2 separate regions of the Homo sapiens genome follow, and region 1 is linked to region 2. The links are contacts of gene promoters, found by promoter capture Hi-C in blood cells and fetal thymus (Javierre and others, 2016). All regions are on one chromosome and are shown on one strand. Each heading gives the region's core, a stretch centred on a gene start or on the middle of the fragment in contact. The rest is flanking DNA. Distances are from core to core; before and after follow the strand shown. Region 1 has its middle 33 kb from the start of LINC00589. Region 2 holds the start of LEPROTL1 (leptin receptor overlapping transcript like 1).

The links. The method cuts DNA at HindIII sites, captures the fragments that hold promoters and counts their contacts. A CHiCAGO score of 5 or more calls a contact.
Region 1: a contact is called between a fragment that was not itself captured here and the fragment with the promoter of LEPROTL1 in region 2, in 1 of 17 cell types (neutrophils). The highest score is 5.6, in neutrophils.

What each region holds. Positions count from the first base shown.
Region 1 is chr8:29,711,708-29,719,024 of GRCh38, forward strand. No RefSeq gene overlaps it. Among named protein-coding and RNA genes, the nearest start is that of LINC00589, 33 kb to the right of the region's middle. The HindIII fragment of the contact is 7,866 bases long and covers 1,420-7,317 here.
Region 2 is chr8:30,090,783-30,097,700 of GRCh38, forward strand. It overlaps LEPROTL1 (leptin receptor overlapping transcript like 1), which reads left to right and starts at 4,626. Exons shown (of 4, transcript NM_015344.3): 1 at 4,626-4,746. The coding sequence starts at 4,731. RefSeq lists an enhancer at 2,189-2,358 and a silencer at 4,474-4,933. The HindIII fragment of the contact is 3,733 bases long and covers 2,604-6,336 here.

The DNA.
Region 1 (7,317 bases), core at 4,103-6,602, 380 kb before region 2:
TGCTCTGCCCTCAGGGAACTTATATTCTAGCCAGAGAGACAAACCCAAAGAAAGGAAATACAATAATAGCACATTGTGATGAATGCTGGGAAAGAAGCAAACACAGTACTGGAATCCAAGATAATAAGAGACTACAATTGACTGGCCTCTGAGGAGAAGACATTTAAGCTGAAAAGCTCCATTATTAGATGGGTCAAAGGGGACATCCTGTTTCGCCTTTCAAAGTTCTGCTTCAGTGTCACTTGCTGAACTTAACGTTATAGGTCTTCCACTCACAATGGTCCCCCTGGACAATAGTTAAGACTCTGCAGAGGGTGTTGCCCTTCCAAAAGAGATCTACTCTTCATGACAGCATTTCTGCCCCTTTCCCTTGATAAGCAGTTCATGAGTTTTACACGCACTCCCTTGGAGGGATGATTCTGTCCCCATTAATGAGCAGCTTTGCTTGGTAGTTATTGAGTAACTGCCATCTATTGACTTTATATAAAATGTTAATTATAAGTTAATTTGGGGACAACCGTTTAATCTATGAAAATACAAAGAAGAATGCACAGACCATGGACTATATCCACTAAGTGCAGCAATATATTTATTCATAATATAAGCACTGTGGCAAGTCAAAAGAAGTAAGGAAGCAGATCTAAGGGGTATTGGGTCCCCAATCAAAACATGCTATTCCTTTCCTTTCCTTGATTTTTCTTTTGGCCTGAGATTGAATGAACTGAATGCCCATACTCAGAAAGATGCTTGAACTATGCCCGCCTATATAACATGTATAACTGATACTAAAAGTGAAGGTAAGTCACATAAATCTAAAGCCAATGTAGAATTTTTCTGGTTAAAGTTTTTAAAACAAACCACAAAACTAAAAATACCTATAAAATCATCTTTTGCTAAATATTTAGGCAAAGGACATAAACATATGCATATATATAGATATTTACGCAAAGAACCATAAAAAGATATGTCTGCGTGTACATAGGAACTATTTATTGACAAACCATTTGTGTTAGCACAGTAGCTTGCCCTTGGGGCTAACAGCCAAAAACTATTAATTCTTGCCATGGGAAAAACAATTTTAAAACTCATTAATTATGCCAAAAATTTACATTTTTATTTTTATTCCAAGCCTTGATTACAGTCTATTAATAAATGAAAATGTGCTTGCATTTTTAAGTACTTCTGAATTTCCCAAGTTTTGTTTTCAAAGACAGCAAAACTTCAACAACATTTTAATTTACTCAGCGAATAGTCAAGGGAAAGGCTTTATTAAATAAAGAAACTGTCTTTGAAGAAATAGTTGGAGTTCAATAATATATTAAATGCCTGCTGAGGACTTTTTCTCTTTTTCTTTTTAATTTATGTTTTTATCAAAGTAAAATGGAGTTTTTTTTAAAAAAAAATCAAAAGCCACTACAAAGCTTATAAAGCAAAAAGCAGTTTATTATGCCACTACTCCCTACTCCTGAATCATTTAATGTCTTATTTTTTTCTTTTTGAATTTCTAACTGTATTTCTAAGTAGTATACCTACAGTGTTTTAATTTTTTTCATTTTATATATTAATTCTTGAATTGCAAATAAAGGCGGATTTACTTCTTTCTTTACAATCTTTACACCTTTAATCTCTTATTTGTGGCTTATTTCAACTGGCTAGGATTTCCTGTAAGAAGTTGAAAGGACTTTGCCTTATTCTTGATCTTAGAAGTAAAGCATTTGTTCTTCCATTATGAAGCATAATGTTAATTGTAGGGCTTTGTAGAGTCCCTTGAATGTATTGAGGAAGTCCACCTCCTTTCCTAGTTTTCTGTCAGTGTTATTGTTTTATTTATTTTGCCTTTCTTATAATTTTTAAATTAAAAACACATCATTTTTGTACAGTTTGTATAAAGAATTACATATATTATAATTTTTAACTCTTAGTAACCTTAAATTCTAGTGAAAACCTAAAAGCGAAATCTTGAATTGTCTGTCACACTCTGTCTCCAGGCTGGAGTGCAGTGCCGTGATCTTAGCTCACTGCAACCTCCACCTCTGGGGTTCAAGCGATTCTCCTGCCTCAGCCTCCTCAGTAGCTGGGACTATAGGCACGCGCCACCACGCCCAGCTAATTTTTTTTTTTGTATTTTTAGTAAAGACGGAGTGTCACCATGTTGGCCAAAGATGGTCTCAATCTCTTGACCTCGTGATCCACCCGCCTCGGCCTCCTGAAGTGCTGGAATTACAGATGTGAGCCACTGTGCCTGGCCTGCTGTCATTTTTAATATAAAAAGAAATGATCTTTTAAATAATATTTTCTTGTTTAATGAGTGTGAAATTTTCTTTCATTTCTCTGATAATATTTTAGAGTCTTTAAAAATTCCTTTTTACTCTGCTTTTTTTTTTTTTTTTTTTTTTTTTGTCTTTTAAAATTACCACTATTTATTCTAAGTCCTGTTTTTCCGGTTAAAATAGTTTGGTCTCCTTCTTTCACACAGAGGATTTCCTCCGATGTCTGGTTTATTCCTAGCAATTCATCTGTGATTGGAATAAGGCATAAAAACACCACATGGGTGGGGCTTGCTGACTAGCAGGCCTCACTGTAGGGCATCCCTACCCATTTCTTAGGGGGATGTAGACATGTCAGTATCTCTGTGTACTTTCTTTCTGTTGGCCCAGAAAAGAAATACCTAATCTGCTGCCTGGTATAAATATAGACCTGGCTGCTAAAATCTGGGAACTGATTAAGGGATGTGGATAGTGGTGGTGTGTGCCTGTGGTCCTAGCTACTTGGGAGACTGAGGTGGGAGGATCACTTGAGCCAGGAGATTCGGGCTGAGTGTCTCACCATTCAGTAGAGAGACTTTTAGCTCACCCTTTGTTTTGCCTCTTTCCTCACTTCCCTACTCAACTGTCTCTGATAACCCAAAGTCCAGAGTCTCTCCGGATTCGTTGCTCAGGAAGATAAACCTCTATTGCCTGCTAGGTTCGGGGAGGAGATGCTACCTGAGTATGCAGGTGAGTGAGGGAATCTGGAAGTCTAAATCTAAGTTCATCATCTTCATATCCACCCCACCTCTTGTCTTGCCTTTCAAAGCTCACCAGCACCTCTAGTCCTTAGGCTCTCTTGGGTTCTAATGAGAATATCATCTTGGTTTTTATCGACATTCTTATTGACTGGCAATTAAACATTAGCTTTCTCTACTTTGCTGAGTTACCAATGGTCCATCCACTTTCAGTCATCCAAAATGTTCTCCCATCCCTCATCTGCAATCATTTCCACAGGATTTCAGAAAGAAGCAAATATAACACATCTATTCAATCCACCATGTTTAACAAAATTTTCTGATGTGATTTTTTAAAATGCTTTTAAAATATGCCTACAAAAACATTCACCTGTTCAAAGGGTACTATATTAGATGAGTCTTGACAAATGCATATAGCTATGCAACCACCGCTACAGTCAAGATATAGAACATATGTATCACTCCCAAAATGTTCAGGCATGGACCTTTGTAGCTGATGCCCTGTCTCTACCCTGAATCCCTGGCAAACACTGAACATTTCTCTCCCTAGTTTTGCCTTTTCTAGGATGTCATATAAATTGAATCATAGTCATACAGGCAGTTGTGTCTGGCTTCTTTCACTTACCATAATAATTTTGATTTCCATCCATTTGTTTCATGTATCAGTAGTTCACCACGCTTTACTGTTGAATAGGATTCCATTATATGGACAGACCACAGTTTGTTAATCCATTCATTAGAAGATGGATATTTGAGTTGTTTCCAGTCCTTGGCTATTATTAATAAAGTTGCTGTGAACATATGTTTAAAGGTCTTTGGATGTGAACACATGTCTTTACTACTCTTAGGTAAATATCTAAGAACGGAATTGCTGGGTCGTGTAGTAAGTGTATGTGTTAAAATGTATAAGAAGTTTCCAATCTGTTTCAAAGTGGTTGTAAGATTTTAAATTCTTTTCAGCAATATGTGAGCAATCCAGTTGCTCCACATTCTCACCAATAATTGCTATTATCATTTTAAAAAACGTTAGCTAACATATGAGGTGTTAAATTATATCATATCATGATTTTAATTTGCATTTCCCTGATGACTAATATTGTTGAGTATCTTTCATATTCAATATACGGACGCCATGATTGAAAATTCAATACCACTCAAAATTGTACTATAATAAATAAACAAATCACTTAGGTATTGCTACAGGTTGAATTATGCTTTGCCCCTCTCATCCCAAAAAGATATGCTGGAATCTTAAACCTCATACCTCAAAATATGGTCTTATTTAGAGATAGACTCTTTACCGGGGTAAAGTTAAAATGTGGTTATTAGGGTAGGCTCTAATCCAATCTGACAACACCATTATAAAACGGAGAAATTTGGACATGGAGACAGACGAGCACAGAGGGAAGGTGATGTGAGGAGACACGGGGAGAAGACAGCCATCTACAAGCCAAGGAGAGGGCCCTGGAACAGATCCTCCCTCACAGCTCTAGGAAGGAACCAACTCTGCTGATATCTTGATTTCAGATTTCTAGCATCTGGAACTGTGAGAAAGTAAATTTCTGTTGTTTAAGCTATTCGGTTTGTAGTATTTTGTTACAGAAGCCATCACAAACTAATACAGATGCAAATCTAATATATAAGCAGGACTTGCATGCTGAAAACACAAAATATTGCAAGAAATCAAAGATCTAAGTAAATGGAGAGACAAACCATGTCATAAGACTCAGCACAGCAAAGGGTTAATTCATTGCCAAATTGATACACAGCTTTAATGAAATTCCTATTAAAATCCTAGCAAGATTTCTTTGTAGATATAGACAAGACTACTCTAAAATTTATATGGACAGGCAATGAACTAGAATAGCTGAAACCATTTTGAAAGGGAAGAACAAAATGAGAGGAATCGGTCTACCTGATTTTCGACTTATTATATAGCTACAGTAATTGGGACTGTTTGATGCTGGTGGAAGAATACACACAACGATCAATAGAACAGAGGAACGAACCCAAAAATAGACCCACACAAGTATGCCCAAGTGATTTTCAATGAAGTTACAAAAGCAATTCAATGGAAGAAAAATAGCCTTTCCAGCAAATTGTGCTGGAGAAATTGGACATTCACAGGCAAAAAACAAAACAAAACAAAACAAAACAAACAAACAAACAAAAACTCAGCTCAACCTAATTCTTACACCTAATTTTTTAAAAATTAACTCAAAATGTAAAGAGACTTAAATGTAAAATATAAAACTAAAACATTTACAAGAAAACATAGTAAAAAATCCTGGGGATCTAGGGCTAGACAAAATATTCATAGAGTTGACACCAAAAGTGTGATCCTTAAAAGAAAATCTTGATAAATCACAATTAAAAATTTTTGCTCTGTGAAAGACACTGTGAAGAGGATGAAAAGACAAGCTATAGACTGAGAGAAAATATTTTCAAATCACGTATTTGACAAAGAACTAGCATCTAGAATATACATAAAGAACTCTCAAAACTCAACCTTTAAAAAAACCAAACTGGCCGGGCATGGTGGCTCATGCCTGTAATCCCAAAGCTGGGAGACCGAAGCAGGCAGATCACCTGAGTTCAGGATTTTGAGACCAGCCTGGGCAACATGGTGAAAACCCGTCTCTACTAAAAATATAAGAAATTAGCCGGGCATGGTGGCACGTGCCTGTAATCCCAACTACTCAGGAGACTGAGGCAGGAGAATCACTTGAACCCTGGAGGCGAAGATTCCAGTGAGCCAAGATCACACCACTGCACTCCAGCCTGGGTGACAGAATGAGACTCCATCTCAAAAGCAAAAAAATTCAATATGCGTTTATCATAAGACCCAGCAAATGCTCTTCTGGGCATTTATCTCAGAGAAATAAAGTAAAATCTTATGTTCTCAAAAATACCTGTATATCAATGTCTGTAGCATCTTGCAATTGCCCAAACTGGAAGCGGCCCAGATATCCTTCAACAGGTGGATGGTTAAACAAACTGTAGTACGCCATACCCTGGAATACCATTCAGCAATAAAGATTAAAAAGCTATTGATACATGCAACAACTTTCAGAGGATTATGCTGCAAATAAAAAAACAGTGCAATCCCAAAAGATTACATACTGTATAATCCCATTTATATAACATTCCTGCAAAGACAAAATTATAGATATGGAGAACAGTGGTTGCCAAGGATTAAGGAAGGGGTGGGTGCAGGAGGGAAGTGGATGTGGAGGACTCTTGTAGCCAAGGAAATTGTCTGTATTTTGATGGTATCAATGTCAATGTCCTGGTATGAAATAGTACAATGGTTTGGCAAGATACTACCAAGTTGGAGGAACTGGGTGAAAGATAGAGGGATCTCCCTGTATTATTTCTTACAAGTGCATGTGAATCTACAATTACCTCAAAATGTTTAATTTTCAGATGAAAGCAAAAAAAAAGAAAGCCAAACTAAACAAAAATAACATTTCTAGATAACTCAGAAATGTTATAGTTTCTATAAATATTTTTAAAGAAAATCAGTGCTAAATTCAGTTCATCTCCTCCTTCAGATTCTCCTGTTCTAGAACAGGTGCTAGAGCTTCAGCTATAAACTTAGATAGTTTGTGACTGAGTCAACTTCTAGCGAGTTAGGATGTCCACAGCAGAGTGCTGGGAGCTGTACCTGCCCGGCACCACCCCTGTGCTCAGTACGCTACAGTCCATGTGACAGGCAGGCTTAAGGTCTACAATTAGAGAAGCAGGTGGATCTCCTTTGTCCTCAGGTCTAAGTCACTTTCTCCTCTCTGGCTCCCCCAGAAAGCCTTGGGGGTTAAGACACACCTGCCTACCCGTTAGGAAAACTGACAGTTTGTTTCCCATTTGGCTCTCAATTTTCTGTGAGTTGCACTAGCTTTAAGGAGAAGAAGGGTGAATTCAAATCAGCCTTACCTCTTGACTCCATTAGGAGATCCTGAGGTTGGACCAGCGGCATCTCCCAAGATGGGGTTGGGGTACTGGACTCCCACAAGGAGGCCGGAGCAAAGGCACATGAGGCTACTTACACCTGCACTCCTGACAGAGGCTGCTGGGACATCCAGAAATAATTAGAAAGCCATTGGGCTTTTCTTACCTGGTAAATTATACATTTGGGTGATATCTACGTCCTTTCCTCATGTTCTCCTTGGGAATAAAGGAACAAATGTGCGAGCTGATTGTCCAGAGTTTGTGGTAGGTAAGAGAGACAGAAACGAGGCTCAGAAGTGTGCTGTGGGTCCTCTAATACCTGGCTCAGCGGTTCAAAGACGACTCGAGGGACTTCATGGAGTTCC
Region 2 (6,918 bases), core at 3,376-5,875:
CATATTGTGGGTTCACAGAACAAAACAAGAAAAGGTGTTGTGGTAGGTGACATGTGGGATGGAATTATTCACTTCTCCAGGAATTCCACCTATCCATTCAAGATGGCTGGGGAGAAGGACGTATATGCCTGCTTCAGTAGTTTAGAGAAAGGAGCTGGTGGCTCACAGATTCCGTGTAAACAGCGTGTATTTCCATGGCATATGTTCAAGTGTGCCTTGTGGTTTTGTTACCACATCCTTAAATGGAAACTTTTTTCATGATACAGGAAAGAGATGGTAGATCTTTCTGCACTAACTTGAACAGAAAAAAATTCTACTCTCCTACAAAACACCCATAGACTCATTTGGTGCATTAAGACTCAAGAAGTGACCTGTTTGTTGTTGTTGTTGTTGTTGTTTAAATTGTAATTCAACTCTAGAAATAGTAGAGAGAAGCGAAGTGGGTAATGCCTCAAGCTTCCCATTTGCTCTCATTTTAAAGCATATTGGAAATATCTCTTCTAAACATTCACTCCACAGTCTTACATGCCACTTTATGTTAGTCTGATGACTGAAAAAAAGTTAAAAATTCAAATCGTACGTAGCTCACCCCCACCTACTTCCTTTTAAAACCTTCAAAAGATTTTTATTGCTCAGAGAGAAAACCCAAAACTGCTTGTGTACGTCCCTACTATATAAGCATGCTGCCCCACCCCAACCTTGACCAACCCCATTGGCCACCTCTCTTTTCTCCAAGGGACCAAGCAAGTTCCTTGCTCCATTTGCTGCCAAAGCTCCTAACTCCCCACCACACATACATACATGCGCGCACGCAAACACACAAACACACAAAAACACAACACACAAAACACACACAAACACACATGCACAAACACACGCACACACACAAACATGCATACACACGCAAACGTGCACAAACACGCAAACACATGCAGGCACACACAAACACGCCCACAACACAGACACGCACGCACACAAACACACATGCACGCACAAACGCATACACAGACACGCACACAAACGCACGCACAGACAAACGCACACACACAACACCCAAACACGCACAAGGACGCACACACACGCACACACAAATACCCATGCACACGCAAACACGTACACAAACACATACACACAAACACGCACAAACACATGCATGCACACACACATGCAGGCACACACAAACACAAACACGCACACACACAAACACACGCAAACACACACACACAAACAACACACCCCGCCACCTGCGATGGCTTTTCCGTTCTCTATTAACACATTTATTCATCACTGTGTTGTCTCTCCTTGGGGGAAATTTTCCTTGGCAGATCGCAATCAAAAGTTTTCAGAGAACTATTTACCCATCTTTCCTAGTGTAGGAAAGGATAAAAACTTTCTTTACCCTCCTAGGTTCAGAAGCTGAGAACTGTGAATTAAACTAACAAAGTACAGATTACCAGGAAAAAAAAAAAGGTTTATTTTGCATGCACAAGGAGGCTTCACAGAAAAGAAGTGAAAACTCAAAAAGTAATTAGGCCTGGGAGCATGTATCATTTTAACAAAGGGTGATGCATTGTGGAAAAGTAGACAAAGGAAAGGTTTTGGACTTCTAGGGGCAGTAGATTTTAAGAAGGTAAATATATAGGGGAAAACTAATGAAAGATAAGGGCTATTTTAGTAATGTTTTCACAGACTCCAATAAATGCTGTTTACTGGGGCATAGGAGTTGCATCCTCTCCCTGGTCTGGGAAATGTAAATATTTATAAGTAGAAAAATTTGTTTACACATTTTTTGGGGGCCAGGCGCAGTGGCTCACACCTGTAATTTCAGCACTCTGGGAGGCCCAGGTGGGCCGATCACTTGAAGCCAGGAGTTCAAGACCAGCCTGGCCAACATGGTGAAACCCTGTCTCTACCTAAAAATACAAAAATTAGCCAGGCATTGTGGCTCATGACTGTAATCCCAGCTACTTGGGAGGCTGAGGCAGGAAAATCACTTTAACCAAGAGGCAGAGGTTGCAGTGGGCTGAGATCACACCACTGCACTCCAGCCTGGGCGATAGAGCAAGACTGAAAGTTAGCTGGGCGTAGTGGCGCGTGCCTGTAGTCTCAGCTACTTGGGAGGCTGAGGCAAGAGAATCGCTTGAACCCAGGAAGCGGAAGTTGCAGTCAGCCGAGATCATACCACTGCACTCCAGCCTGGCCACAGAGCGAGACTCCGTTTCAAAAGAAAAACAAAACAAAACAAAAAGTGGAACTTTATGTTATCTTTACAAAGGGAACTTAAGCACGGCCTTTGGGTAGAAAAGGAGAGAGCAGAGAGCTCCTCCTATGCCTGTTGCTTCTTATTTGCTTTCAGCTCAAAACAATCCTTAGCCTTATTTTCACTCGTGTCCGTGTGAAGAGACCATCAAACAGGCTTTGTGTGAGCAACAAGGCTGGTTATTTCCCCTGGGTGCAGGTGGGCTGAGTCCGAAAAGAGAGTCAGCGAAGGGAGATAGGGGTGGGGCCATTTTATAGGATTTGGGTAGGTAAAGTAAAATTACAGTCAAAGGGGGTTGTTCTCTGGCAGGCAGGGGCTGGGGTCACCAGGTGCTCAGTGAGGAAGCTTTTGAGCCAGCATGAGCCAGGAGAAGGAATTTCACAAGGTAATGTCATCAGTTAAGGCAGGAACCGGCCATCTGGATGTGTACGTGCAGGTCACAGGGGATATGATGGCTTAGCTTGGGCTCAGAGGCCTGACATTTATTTGTTTGTTTGGAGACAGAGTCTTGCTTTGTTGCCCAGGCAGTGGCACAATCAGAGCTCACTGCAGCCTCGACCTCCTAGGCTCAAGCAATCCTCCTACTTCAGCCTCCCAAGTAGCTGGAACTACAGGCACACACCAAGCCTGGCTAATTTTTTTTTCGTTTTTGTAGAGATGGAGTCTCACTATGTTGCCAGGGCTGGTCTTCAACTCCTGGGCCAAAGCGATCCTCCTGTCTTAGCCTCCCAATGTGCTGGGATCACATGCCTGAGTCACCACACCAGACTTCAAAGTGGCATATTTTAGAGTGACATATTCTGATCCCCTTTACTAGCAATTATCATTATTGCAATTTTACATTTTTTGTGTGTCTGTCTTCCTCACCAGTCTGCAAACAGTACCTGGTTTTGCACATCTCAGCGTCTAACCCTGTGCCTAACACATAGTAAATGTTCTATAAATAATTGTAGGATGTGTAAATAAAGGTGTTGAACCTGGGCTTTCACTTTTTTTTCCTTGCCTTGTTACTACCAAAAAGACAGCCACCCAAGGGACTGGATTTCTATTAAATCCACCCTTTACTGAGCCCTGCTGCTCCTATCTCTGGAGGTGGGTCCTCACCAGAACCCTAGTCCTGTATAGGAAACCAAGGAGCCAAGTGCAGACCACCCAACTAACCTTAATTATAGGACTGGGGATGGAGGGATGGAGGGAGAGAGGAAAAGGCGCAGTAAAATAATGTGCGCAGTGGCTCACACCTGTTGTCGTAACCGAGCGAGTTATAGAGAAACACCACACTTTGAGACTAATTCAGGAGTCCTTTATTGCCGGCGACCGAGAGACGACTACAGCTCAAAATTCTCTCGGCCCTGAAGAAGGGGCTAGATTTCTTTTTATACCTTGGTCTAAATAGGGAAGGGGTAGTCTAGCTGAAGCAATTTTTACAGAAGCAGAACAGGCAAAGAGTTAAAAGATAAATGGTTATAGAAACAGTTACAGGAAAATAAACAGTTCCAGGTGCATGGGGCTTAAATTATCACAAAGAGATAAACGCAGGGGCTTTGGGTACCATCAACCGAGCGCGTTCCCAGGAGCTGCTGGTACAGCTTGCCTCAGTATCTTATCAGTAAGCACATTCCTGGATGTGCTTGGTGTCAGTCTGCACCAGTTATGTCCTTAAGGGAGGGGGACAAGGTGCTGCAAGCGAAGAAACCAAAATGGAGTCTGTCCCGCTCTCTCAGCTAAGAGCGAGTCAATCAGGTTAAAACAAGGTAGGGTATCAAGCTGTAATCCCAGCGCTTTGGGAGGCCGAGGAGGGCAGATCCTTGAGCTCAGGAGACCAGCTTGGGCAACAAGATGAGAGTCTCACACCCCGCCCTGTCTCTACAAAAAACAAAACAAAACAAAACAAAAAAAAGCCAGGCATGGTGGCTCATGTCTGTGGTCCCAGTTACTGCGAGGCCGACGTGAGAGAATCACTTGAGCCCTGGAGATCGAGGCTGCAGTAGCCGTGATCACACTCCAGCCTGGGCGAAAGAGACCCTGTCTCAAAAAACAAACAAAACAATGTGAAATTAAGCCAAAAGCCATCACACGTGCATCCAAAGGACGGCCGCTACCCGCGACCCCTTCCCAACGCACGCGGGAGGTTGCGGGATCAGGGACAGGGGCTTCAGCAGGGAGCCCCCAGACCGGCCCTGACAGGAATTCAAGACCTGGCGCCTGCTCATTCCCCCAGTCGGGGCGGCGGCGGCAAGCCTCGGCCGGCGGCGATCTGCACACCCGCGGAGAAGAGAGGCAGGGGGTCGACCCCACAGCCCAGCCCGGCGCGTCCCCCGCGCCCCCGCGCGAGCCCGAGTCGCCGGCGGAAGTGCTGCGTCGCGCACTTCCGGGTGTTGTCTGGCCGCCGTAGCGCGTCTTGGGTCTCCCGGCTGCCGCTGCTGCCGCCGCCGCCTCGGGTCGTGGAGCCAGGAGCGACGTCACCGCCATGGCAGGCATCAAAGGTGGGCCTGGGTTGCAGGACGCGGGAGGGCTGGGGCCGGCGGGGGAAGATGGGCCGGGGGTCCCACGCGGCCCCCGCACTTCCCCTCCGGGCTCGCGCGCGCGCGTGGGGTCCCTGCGCCGGGGAAGCGACCCCCGCCCCGGCCCTGCGCTTGGCCCGGAGGTGGGCGCGGCGCCCTCGGGCAACGGACGGTTGCGACCCCGGCTTCGCCCCGCAGCCCCCACTTTCTGCCGATTTCGGCAGCCTCTCTCCCACCCATCGCCCCCCGGACAAAATATGAAGTGGTTGGCGGTCAGTGAGGAGTCCCGTCGCGACTTGGACGGCCACACACGTTTTGCAGGAGTTTGCATCCGAGAGAGAGGCAGGCAGAGCGTGGGATTGAGAAGGCTGAGGCTGCTAGAGATGCCAGCTATGGAAAACCAGTCATTTCCCACCGAAAGGCACAAGTGCGGTCTGCGGGCGCTGCACGGGTCTGCCCGAAACCTCGACCCCACGTCCACCCCGGCCGCCCGCGCCCGAGGCTTTACAGGCTCCCGAAACGGGTGCATTTTCATCTGCGGTGTCTGGACCCTAGAGTTGATCCTGTAGGCGACCCCAAAGTGCTCCTGGCTCTCTTCCCTCTCCGCAGTTGCACCCTGAGGCTTTTTCAAATTTCAAAATTTTTCTTTTTTTCCTTTTTTTTTTTTAAGAAGATAAAATACTGGTACAACTTAATGAAAAACTACTGGCTTATTCATGTATTTTCTTTTAAAAAAAGGAATGTTGCATTTGTTCCACCTGTTAGGTAGTTTTGTTGTCAGTGTGATGAGAAGCAAAGTTTTCAGCTACTGCTTAACTAATTACATTGATTTCTTGACCTGCCGCTCTGTAGAAGGGCAGTCAGGCAGGAAGCAGGTAACTTTGGGAGCAGTGGTTTTCTTTGTATTTTTTCTTCTCTAAGGAAAACTTAATCGAGTTTTTTTTCAGGGTCACAGTCTTACTGTTTCTTGTTTATTTTCAATGTCTGAAAACATTTCATTTCCCATATAAAACCTTGTCATTTAAGCAACTGGGATACTTTGTAATCTCCTTTTGAACTATGATAGACTCTAAACCCTTATGTGAAAGGCAGTTATTGTGAATTGCTGTGGTTTTTAGGATGTTGCCCGTTTCCCTGTTCTTCCCTGTTTCTTCAGTGTCAATAATGCGGGGGTCTCTTAAGAAAATAGCTTTGTAATTTACTTCTCCAGACCTAGGGAAATACTGCATTAAACTGATGAAGGTGCCTCAGGTGAACTGCACTTTTGATTTCAGCAGGATTTTCTGGTTGTTATGAGTCAGTATGTTTCTTTCTCTTGGCCTAATATCTTTATATTAGGAAGGAGTGTTGCTGTAATTAGAGACCATTAGGCATTGCTTGAGCCATTTGTCTATTACTTTTTGATATATTGGATTTTCTGGTAACTCCCAGGTTAGAGAAGTGGTCCCTCCTTCTACTCTAATTTCTTTGTAATCACAGAATCAGCATCTTGTCTCTAGAGAGTTTTGCTAGATAATTGGGCTGCTCCATGCCTAGCCTAGAGGCTTTGGGAGTAGAACCCAGACTTATCTAAGCTTTGTCTTCCAAATGTTGCATCACTCAATTACTGTATGAATTCTTGCCTTGTTGATGTGTCATTTAAGAAACAGCTTATATACAAATGATGAAGTGTATATATAAATCTTCCTAGTTGCCAATTTCATAAGATTGAAGAAACTGCAAGTTTTGAGAACACTTTTAAGCAATTTATTTAACCTCTAATTGGCTACCTTATTCGGTATGACTGGAAGATGAGATGTCACATCAAACTGTGTTATGAATATTTAAAAAAAATTTAGTATTTAATCCTGGCGCGGTGGCTCACACCTGTAATCCCAGCACTTTGGGAGGCCGAGACGGATGGATCATGAGGTCAGGAGTTCAAGACCAACCTGTCCAAGATGGTGAAACCCCATCTCTACTAAAAATACAAAAAAATTAGCTGGGCATGGTGGCAGGCACCTGTAATCCCAGCTACTCAGGAGGCTGAGGCAGGGAATTGCTTGAACCCGGGAGGCAGAGGTTGCAGTGAGCCAAGATTACGCCACTGCACTCCAGCCTGGGCAACAGAGTGAGACTCTGTCTCAAAAAAAAAAAAAATATATATATATATAC